3 separate regions of the Homo sapiens genome follow, and regions 1 and 3 are each linked to region 2. The links are contacts of gene promoters, found by promoter capture Hi-C in blood cells and fetal thymus (Javierre and others, 2016). All regions are on one chromosome and are shown on one strand. The core of a region is centred on a gene start or on the middle of the fragment in contact, and the rest is flanking DNA. Distances in the headings are between cores, read along the strand shown. Region 1 has its middle 300 kb from the start of LNCSRLR. Region 2 holds the start of DIPK2A (divergent protein kinase domain 2A). Region 3 holds the start of TRPC1 (transient receptor potential cation channel subfamily C member 1).

Region 1 (3,270 bases), core at 400-2,899, 1.8 Mb before region 2:
GTTGAAGAAAACTGCCTTACATAAGATCATGCCTGATCGTAAGGGCAGCCCACATCCAGTGGCCAATAAATGGAATTGTATAAAGGCTTGGCCTTCTTGCCTCAATTCACAACTGCTCTGAAGGATGTCAAAGAGAAATACTTAATAGCACTAGACGCTTATTAAAAGTGGCAAGGCTGATTTATTCAGCCTTCTGCAGTAGGAAAGAGACACTCCATTAAAAACTATGCTCACTTCCAACTAAGACAAAATTAACTAGGAGAAAATAGAGAGAACAAAAAAGGGCTATAAGGAAGTAAAATAAAGTAACTAAAGGGGACTGGGGGCTATGGGGAAGTGAAAAAATATGTGATGGGGGATAAGTGGAAAATTATTGAAAATCATTTGGCAATGTACATTGGGACAATGTGCACTTTGTTACATTTTCTTGAGCAAAGACTCAGCCTAGGGGCTGGTGCCACCTCTAGAAATACCACCTAGGGGAGGTAGGAGTCAGGCTAAAGTTTGGCCAAGTCTCTCAGCACTGTGTTCAGGCAGGTCCTTTGTGCCACCTGGAAGTTCACAGTCCACAAGGTGCACACCTTTGAGACTACAATGACATCCAACTTCTCCCTCTGCTCAATCAATCCTCCATCCATTCTCCAATCTTCACAGGTACAGATCCCAAGAGCTCTAATGAACATCCTGTATGCTAGACTCCAGCTGAGGCGGTTTCTCAGGTCCTCCAGCTTCTTATGTTTCTCATAATTATAACCCATGGGCATTTCATACATTTGAAATGGAAGATTCTTTTTTCTCTCTGCAGACATCTTGCTAATTAAGTAAAAGATTACTATAGCCTTGGAACACGTGTCAGCTATAGGATTGTAGCACTTCCTTTCTGCTAAAAAGATGTGGTTCCTTTTGGCTGACACATTTTAAGTCATTTGTGGGTAAATTTCTACACATTCTATGCTTGACTTTTTGTATGTGTGTTTTTTTATTACTGAAATGATATATTATATTCCTAAATAACAGAAATGGATCAATTGTTCAAAGGCCATCCACTAAATCATAAATATAGAGACATAGTAACATAAATGCTACAACTCAAACAACATTATAAATATAATCTACTACCTTTTAAGTACAGAATAAATTACATGGGTATAGCATGTAAATCTGACATGGTGTTTTTACACAAGCAGTCATAAAAGTTGCCAACAGGAAGGAGAACTGTATATAATAGAATTGGATTTTACTGGACCAATAAAGTGATTCATCTACCTCTATTCTTTGGAACATTGTTTGTATTGAAAATTTGTTGAATAGCATCAAGAAACCAATGAAGCTATCACATATTTTTAAAACAAAGCACAGTGATCTCGCTAGTCAACCAAATTAGATGTATTTTTTTTAGAATAAGTGAAAAATATTGCTTTCTTTCATGCAATTGATCAATTTAGTTGCTAAAAATAAAGACTCAAAGTTCTAGTTCTTGAAAAAGAAATATTTAAAAACAAATGCAAGGTTATATAGCCTCAGAAAGAAAGCAGTAGAAGCAATTTTCAGAATTTGTTTTATTAAATAGTATTGACGAGCATCAAATAATACCAACTCATACAATGTCCAAAAGTAATAACTCTCTCAGACAGATAATCTTATGGTGGGACAAATCCTTGAAATGCAGAGACTGAATGAGCTCGTGGCACTTATGTGAAACACGTGAGAGAGAGGTGGTCTATGAGATTTTGTTTTATTATGAGAACCCCATGGTACAGAAGAAGTGGTGTTTTAATTTAGGTGATGATTACTTGGTGAGCCGTAATGAAACCTGGATACAGTGTGCTCACATTGGCACTAAAGTACAATTTATGTAGAGGTAGCAGGAAGGCCATTGCTACTTGAAGGCAGCTCTACATACAGCTTTACCACAAAGTGAACGTGTTACACAAATGAAATATGAGTAATTCATGATGCTGAAGGGTGAATGAGCAGCTCTGAACTAAGACTGCTTTAAAGTTTATAACACTCTTAGTGTTGCGGGAAGTCAGGGACCCCAAACGGAGGGACCGGCTGGAGCCGTGGCAGAGGAACATAAATCGTGAAGATTTCATGGACATTTATCAGTTCCCAAATAATACTTTTATAATTTCTTATGCCTGTCTTTACTTTAATCTCTTAATGCTGTTATCTTAGTAAGCTGAGGATATATGTCACCTCAGGACCACTATGATAATTGTGTTAACTGTACAAGTTGATTGTAAAACACGTGTGTTTGAACAATATGAAATCAGTGCACCTTGAAAAAGAAGAAAATAACAGCAATTTTTAGGGAACAAGGGAAGACAACCATAAGGTCTGACTGCCTGCTGGGTTGGGCAAAAAGAGCCATATTTTTCTTCTTGCAGAAAGCCTACAAACGGATATGGAAGTAAGAGAGATATCACTAAATTCTTTCCTTAGCAATTAATATTAATACCCTGGGAAAGGAATGCATTCTTGGGGGGAGGTCTATAAATGGCCGCTCTGAGATTGTCTGTCTTATGTGGTTGAGATAAGGACTGAGATGTGCCCTGGTCTCCTGCAGTACCCTCAGGCTTACTAGGGTAGGGAAAAAACTCCACCCTGGTAAATTTGTGGTCAGACTGGTTCTCTGCTCTCAAACCCTGTTTTCTGTTGTTTAAGATGTTTATCAAGACAATACATGCACTGCTGAACATAGACCCTTATCAGTAGTTCTGCTTTTGCCCTTTGCCTTGTTCACTCAGAAGCATGTGATCTTTGGTCTGCTTTTTGCCCTTTGAAGCATGTGATCTTTGTACCTACTCTCTGTTATTTCACCCCCTCCCCTTTTGAAACCCTTAATAAAAAACTTGCTGGTTTGAGGCTCAGGTGGGCATCACGGTCCTACCAATATGTGATGTCACCCCCGGGGGCCAAGCCATAAAATTCCTCTCTTTGTACTCTTTCTTTTTATTTCTCAGCCAGAAAATAGAAAGAACCTATGTTGAAATATTGGGGGCGGGTTCCCCCGATACTTAGAAGTGAACACATGTTTGTTTCCATTTCAAAGATGGTGAAATCAATAGAGGAAATAATTATCTTGAAATTATATGATAGTTGAATCAGGAATAGATGTATGCATTTTGGGTCTCAGAATGTATCACATCCTATAGGAAGCCTATACTTGGGTTAAGAATACCAAAGAAATTAAAGTGTAGATTGATTTAACATTTTCTCATCCTATTTAGACTTTCTCAAGTGGGCAAAAGCACTTATCTATGGTGA
Region 2 (3,400 bases), core at 50-2,549:
CCCACGCCTGCAGCCTGGCCCAGCCCGGCCGAGTCCGAACTGGCGGCAAGCGCTGGCTGAGCCACTTCTCCCGACTCTGATTCCCACGCGCGGCCCCTCCCAGGACGCCCCCTGCCCTGGCTCCGCGCCTACCTGTAGCACCAGCGGCTCGGGGTTGAAGGCCAGGGTCAGCAGCAGCTGCATGCGCTCCGAGTCCTTGAGGTTGCGAAGCAGGAAGCTGCCCGAGTCCTTGGTCTCCGCGTAGCGGCGCACCAGGCGGTCGAGAAGGCGCTGCGAGGGGCAGTGCACCAGGTCCGACCAGCCCTCCACCGCCTCGGGCGTGAGCAGACGCACGTCGCCGTTGAGGCGCGCGAACTCGGTCCGGGGCATGGCCTGCAGCAGGTCGCAGCGGGGCCGGCCGGTGGCCCGCTTGCAGATGCTCTGGTCGAGCTGCGCCAGCTCGCGCTGCGAGCCGAGGCGCTTGAGCACCACTCGGCGGCGGCCGCCCTCGCGGGGCTCGCCGTACTGCGCGAAGTACACGTTCTTCACGTTGAGGAAGTCCAGCAGGCGCAAGCGGCCCCACGCCTCGAATACCACCTGCCCGTTGAGGAAGCGGCGGCACCAGCTCGTGCCGAAGCACGCCGGGCACTTATTGAGCTGCAGGAAGCGCCGGTCGGTCAGTTCGTTGCGCTGCCAAGAGGCGAGCAGCGACGGCGAGTGCAGCACCATCAGCACCAACAGGCTGCCCAGCGCCGCCAGCTTCAGCGAGCGGGACAGGCGGCCCAGCTTCGGGGGCACCAGGCGCCACATACCGCCCGCCCGCCCGCAACGGGAGGGCGAGGGCACCCCCGGGGCGCCCCCGCCGCGCCAAGACCCGGAGAGCTACCGGCAGGAACCCCGGGCGAGAGAAGGAGCTAGCGCGCGGGCTGGGGCGGAGGGCGGAGTAGGTGTGTGAGAGAGGAAGACGGGGAGCGGGAAGGCGCGGGCCTGAGCGGGCTGCGACTTCTCCCAGTCACTAGTCTCCACAACTCTCGAGCTCCCTCCTCCTAGCTCCCCGCCCTCCGACTCCGGCGGCGCCTCCTCCACGCCAGCCAAGTTATAGAGGAGCGGGAGGGGGAGGGAGCGCGGGGACCCGACGGTCGCGCGCCCGTGCCCGCGCGCACGCGCACTGCTGGCTTCGCACAAGAGCTGCGGCGGCAGCCAGCCACGACAAGTGGGGTCTGCGAGGAAAGGAGGGACTCACGGAAGGGGAAGAGGAGCTAGGATGTCTCACACCCACAAGCAGCAACGCACGTCTCAGAGCCGCACACCCTTGCTTGTGCGCGCTGGCTCTCCTGAGACCAAGAAGGGGAGCCGGGGGCGGGGCCAGAGGGGCGGAGCGAGCGCGTCGCGCGCCGCCCGGAAAGCGTAAGCGGGAGCTCGCGGGAGCGGGTGTGGGGGCGGTTCAGAGAGGGGGAAGCTCGGGCTCTTGAGGTGGGGGCATGAACTCGCGGTTTCTGGTTTCAGAAAGAGTCTTAATTACAGTCATCTTTTATGATTATTGTGGTTTACTGGTGCGTTCCTTTCACTATTGTGGAAACGGCCCTTTAAGGGAGGAGGGAATAAGAAGAAATGAACTGAGGAAGTCTATTGCAAATCCTTCCCTCTGGACGGCGCGCGAGGCGGAGGCAGAGCTGGCGCGATTGCCTCCCCTCGCCTTATATGGGTTGGGTGCGCGCCTGGGGGGTGGGGCGAGGCCGGGGAGTGCCCGACGGGGGCTTGTGTTCCCCTCAGCTCGTGCTCCTCGCGGTAGGGGGTGGGGCCTGTGAGGAAGACGGTGAGAAAGGCTCGAGTAGTGGCGGGTTTGTTGGAGCTTCATCTTTGGGGTTGTATCTGTAAAATCATTTAAAATTTTCTTGAGTGAGCACAAAATAAAGTTCTCAAGCCACCGTGTTAAAGGGAAAATAGGATGAAGGGGAACCGACGCGGCCTGGTGTCGCCAGGACGTCTGCCCCAAGCGCCGCGAAGAAGCCGGGAAGAGTTTGCCAGGCTTGCCTCTGCTGCCCGCCGGCTGCCCTAGCCCGTCCCCGGAGCCCTGCGGTTCCTCTCCGCAAAGCTGATTTCCCGGTGCCGCCCCTGAGGGTCCCTGAGGAGCGGGCCGCGAAGCGTTGCCCTGGCGGTAGCCATGGGGACCCGGGGCTGCTTGGTGCTCCGCACGGTCACGTTGACTCAGTCACCCCAGACTGCAAAAGTAAGGCGCAGATGCCGCACGAAAGCACTGTGTTTAGGGATAAGTTTCAGGGGACCCGGACTGTTTAGCAGTAGCGCTAGTAGATACATTATTATGCTATTCACTTTTAGTGCTAGAGTAGTTAAAATGAGAAGTGATTTTTAGTCTGAGGGACAGGTGGTTCCTGATACGTTATTAAACAACTGAGTCTTAACTGAGTTAATTTTAGGGCTTGAACAGTGCTTTTAGAAGACCATGGTAACTGGCATGTGTAGATCAACTCTACAGCGGGTTAATAAGAAACATCTATACCAGGTTATCAAAAGTAACAATACTTTCAGTATTGTTTAATTGTAACAGGTATTTGTTACAAATTCTTATAAGAACTCAGATTTTGAAAAAAAAACTTTGAGAAATTTAATAAATTCAAAATAGACGTGATTTTGTAACGATTTGCATTGAATACGGACAGACAAATTGAAATAATATTCAAAGCTTTCTAGAAATTGACTTACTGTACTTAAGTTTGGCTACTTCTGCCTAGTGCCTTATGCCGCCTTTGGTGGGAATTTTATTTAACTTGCTTTCAAATATCCCCAAACTCCATATAATATAGAGTTAAAAGCTCAAGTGAGATTTTCTTAGGAAAAGGAGTTTGGTGTGATGGTTCTGGAGACCTGTGCTGTAGTTCAGCTGTGAGGCTGCTGCTGCTGCTGAATTGTAAACAAAGCAAGTTATTACTTAACTACAAATTTCTTCTTTCTGACATCTTTTCTATATGCCTCATAAATTTGTTCGATTAATAGTAGACAATCTATTTAGAATTGGTTTAAAACAATAAAAGTACTACATAAGTTGCCATTAAACTGATTAAGCTGAGAGAACCGGGGCATAGTGAGACTATTTAGGTAACTAGTAACAGGATTAAGGAGGTACCTGTACTGCTTCTTTGTATCGAATAGGTCTTTGGAGTTCTTAAACTATTCTCAGCCTCCAGATGCTTGGAATTGTATAGGCATCATTTGAAACATGGAAATAAAACACGGTTACTAGTCTACACAATTTGAATTTTGAAAAACATTTGCTCTGCATCTAAGTAGTTTACATTTGTTTAAAAGCTCTGATCTTTTCAGTTAAATTTTCTAGATGTTTATCAGGAGAGATAGTTTTCAAGAACTTAATACATTCATCAAAAGGAAAAAAGTCTTAGAA
Region 3 (3,367 bases), core at 294-2,793, 1.2 Mb after region 2:
ATCACTACAAAGGATGATTGCGTGACATGGCCTTAATATGGCCATAAAAATGATTAACTTCTAGACTAAAAAAAGGATAACGCGCTAAATATATTCCACATATTTTTGCCTTGTAATTCCTGTAATTATTTTTCACTATCTTTATCTCCCAAAGAAAGATCTGGGAGCAATAAATCTTTCTCTCCAATAAAAAGCACTAACAATCAAAGGCGTTCCGTAAATCCAGAGAAAGTTTTGGCAACTAAGGCAGAATTTCTTCCGTCCCGTCCTTACTTCATGTATCTCCACCTAGGATATTCCGTTATTAATGCCAGTCAACAGTCACTGGCTAAAGCACTGGTCAGGTGAAGCTAAATAATAGAGGGTCTGGTTTTGTTTTTAAGAAAAACAAAAACCAGGTGATGAGAACCCTCCATACGAGGCATCCTAAGGTAAGGTGACGGAATTTTCCGACTGGAGTGTCGGAAACTAGCCTCTCGACTCCCGGAAGGAATGAACTGCGAGCCAGAGAGAAGACCAGGTCATTCATGCGGTCAGTAGCAAGGGCGGCGCTAAAACGCTGGGGTCGGGGCTCCCAAGGCGCTACCTAAACCCCGGACCCCAAGGCCAGAGCCACCCCCGACGGTGCAGCGCTCCGAGGGCGCAGCCCCAGCTCCACTCTCCCGCCAGCTCCACACTCACAGGGCAGAGGCGGTGAGGAGAAGACCGCCTGAGGCAGCAGGCGAGGCGGGAAGACACTCGGCGCCTGAGACAGAGGGAATGCCCCGATATAAGTTGAGGCGGGGGAGAGGACTAAAGGTCTGGAGGACAGGGGCGTCCAGAGGAGAAAGGGGCCTAACTCTCACCCTTGTCGCACGCCAGCAAGAAAAGCTTCTCATTCAGCGTATTCTCCTCCTTCACCTCCCGCACATCCTTCAGCGCCATCACCTCGTTCGGCGAGGAAGAGGATGGAGAGGAAGGCAGGGAGGAGGAGGAGGCGCCCGAGAGGTCCGTGCTCGGGTACAGGGCCGCCATCATCGCGGCCCATGAAGGGGGCAGGCCAGGAGACGGGGGCGGGGCCCCCACCGGCCCCGACCCCGACCCCGACCCCAGCCACGCCCCAGGGCTGGAAAAAGGATGAGTCGTTCCCACTGCTGCCTCGGCTCGAGGCCCGTTGGCCCCGAAGGGCGTCGCCTCCCCTGAGAACCAGCACTCGCCCTCCACTGACAGCCCCAAGTTGGTGGCGGCGCATGCGCGGCCCCGGGGCCAGCGACCCCTCCCCAGCCGCCGGCGCCCCGGCCGAGCCGGTCCGCGCCCGTCCGGGGACGACAGTGTGGCGCGCGCCAGGGCGGCAGCCGAGCACGGGGCCGTGCCAGGAGTCGCAGGGGCCGCGCCTGGGGCGGCCTAGCCCAGGAAGAGGACGAGAGATCTGTGGGAGAGGAGCTCCAAGAGGCGCTTCTGCGCACGTTGGGCTCCAGGGCTGTGGGAACCGCTGGCCCAGCTGCGCTCCGAGGAGATGTTCGCGACTCTGTCCTCACGTCATCCTCTGCTCCTCTGTAGCGACGACACTAGGGAGGAGCCTGCGGCAAGGGCGGGCTTGGGTGGGCGGGGCCTGCGGCAAGCGGGGCGTGGGTGGGTGGGGCCTGCGGTGGGGACGCACTGGGCTCCTGGAGCCCGCTGCAGCTTCCTTCGCTCTGGTGAGGTGAACCGCAGTCTGAGGAAGACTTCGCTCAATCGTCCCTTTCCACACCCAGGGTACTGGTTTAAGGTAATTAAGCAAATATGGAGCAGTATGTTAATTGAGTCTCTGACGACTTAATGTTTAGTCGAAATCCTTTGTGGAATTGTCCAGCTATTTCATATTCTGGTGCACTATGCTTTAAAGCACAATGGAGAGCCAGACTCGTGGGTTTGTATGTTGTACTCATTTTAGGCTGGAAATGAACTCTCATTTATAAAGGATATATAGATATATAATTATATTATGTTTAAATAATTTATACAAATATATAAATTTTTATTTCCATATTATTTCCATAGGTTTTTGAGGAACAGGTGGTGTTTGGTTACATGAGTAAGTTCTTTAGTGATGATTTGTGAGATTTTGATGTACCCATCATCGAGCAGTATACACTGAACCTAATTTTGTAGTCTTTTATCCCTCTCCCCCTTCCCAACCTTTCCCCGAGTCCCGAAAGTCCATTGTGTCATTCCTATGCCTTTGCATCCTCAAAGCTTAGCTCTCACTTGTGAGTGAGAACATACGATGTTTGGTTTTCCATTCCTGAGTTACTTCATTTAGAATAAGAATAATAGTCTCCAGTCCCATCCAGGTTTCTGCGAATGCCATTTATTCATTCCTTTTTATGGCTGAGTAGTATTCCATCATTATATATATATCACATATATATATACCACATATATATATATATATATATATATCACAGTTTCTTTATCCACTCATTGATTCATGGGCATTTGGGTTGGCTCCACATTTTTGCAATTGCGAATTGTGCTGCTATAAATATGCATGGGCAAGTATCTTTTTCGTGTAATGACTTCTTTTCCTCTGGGTAGATACCCAGTAGTGGGATTACTGGATCAAATGGTAGTTCTACTTTTAGTTCTCTAAGGAATCTCCACACTGTTTTCCATAGTGGTGTACTAGTTTACAGTCCCACCAGTAATGTAGAAGTGTTCCCTTTTCACCGCATCCACACCAACAGCTATTATTTTTTGATTTTTTTGATTATGGCCATTCTTGCGGAAGTAGGGTGGTACATACGGCATAGCAGTTTTGACTTGGAATTCCCTGATCATTAGTGATCTTGAGCATTTTTTCATATGTTTGTTGGCCATTTGTGTATCTTCTTTTGAGAATTGTCTATTCATGTTTTTTTGTTTTTTCTTGAGACAGAGTTTTGCTCTTGTTGCCCAGGCTGGAGTGCAATGGCGTGATCTTGGCTCACCGCAACTTCCGCCTCCCAGGTTCAAGTGATTCTCCTGCCTCAGCCTTCCGACCAGCTGGTATTACCGGCATGTGCCACCACACCCGGCTAATTTTGTATTTTTAGTAGAGACAGTGTTTCTCCCTGTTGGTCAGGCTGGTCTCGAACTCCAGACCTCAGGTGATCTGCCTGCCTCAGCCTCCCAAAGTGCTGGGATTACAAGCATGAGCCACTGCCCCCAGCCCTTTTCATGTTTTTAGCCCAGTTTTTGTTAGGATTTTTTTTTTCTTGATTATTTGTTTGAATTCATTGTAGATTCTGGATAGTAGTCCTTTGTCAGATGCATAGATTATGAAGATTTTCTCCCACTCTGTGGGTTGTCTGTTTACTCTGCTAACTCTTCCCTTTGCCATGCAAAAGCTCTTTCATTTAATCAAGTC

Evidence for each region. The method cuts DNA at HindIII sites, captures the fragments that hold promoters and counts their contacts. A CHiCAGO score of 5 or more calls a contact.
Region 1: a contact is called between a fragment that was not itself captured here and the fragment with the promoter of DIPK2A in region 2, in 1 of 17 cell types (endothelial precursors). The highest score is 7.2, in endothelial precursors.
Region 3: a contact is called between the fragment with the promoter of TRPC1 here and the fragment with the promoter of DIPK2A in region 2, in 3 of 17 cell types (fetal thymus, total CD4 T cells and activated CD4 T cells). The highest score is 6.6, in fetal thymus.

Annotation. Positions count from the first base shown.
Region 1 is chr3:145,770,681-145,773,950 of GRCh38, reverse strand. No RefSeq gene overlaps it. Among named protein-coding and RNA genes, the nearest start is that of LNCSRLR, 300 kb to the left of the region's middle. The HindIII fragment of the contact is 5,024 bases long and covers 1-3,270 here.
Region 2 is chr3:143,969,722-143,973,121 of GRCh38, reverse strand. It overlaps DIPK2A (divergent protein kinase domain 2A), which reads right to left and starts at 1,299. Exons shown (of 3, transcript NM_173552.5): 1 at 133-1,299. The coding sequence starts at 789. RefSeq lists silencers at 1-213, 704-1,353, 1,684-1,733 and enhancers at 832-1,412, 1,464-1,553, 1,824-1,933, 1,413-1,993. The HindIII fragment of the contact is 6,379 bases long and covers 1-2,685 here.
Region 3 is chr3:142,722,210-142,725,576 of GRCh38, reverse strand. It overlaps TRPC1 (transient receptor potential cation channel subfamily C member 1), which reads right to left and starts at 1,543. Exons shown (of 13, transcript NM_001251845.2): 1 at 846-1,543. The coding sequence starts at 1,017. RefSeq lists an enhancer at 125-991 and a silencer at 1,250-1,299. The HindIII fragment of the contact is 1,344 bases long and covers 873-2,216 here.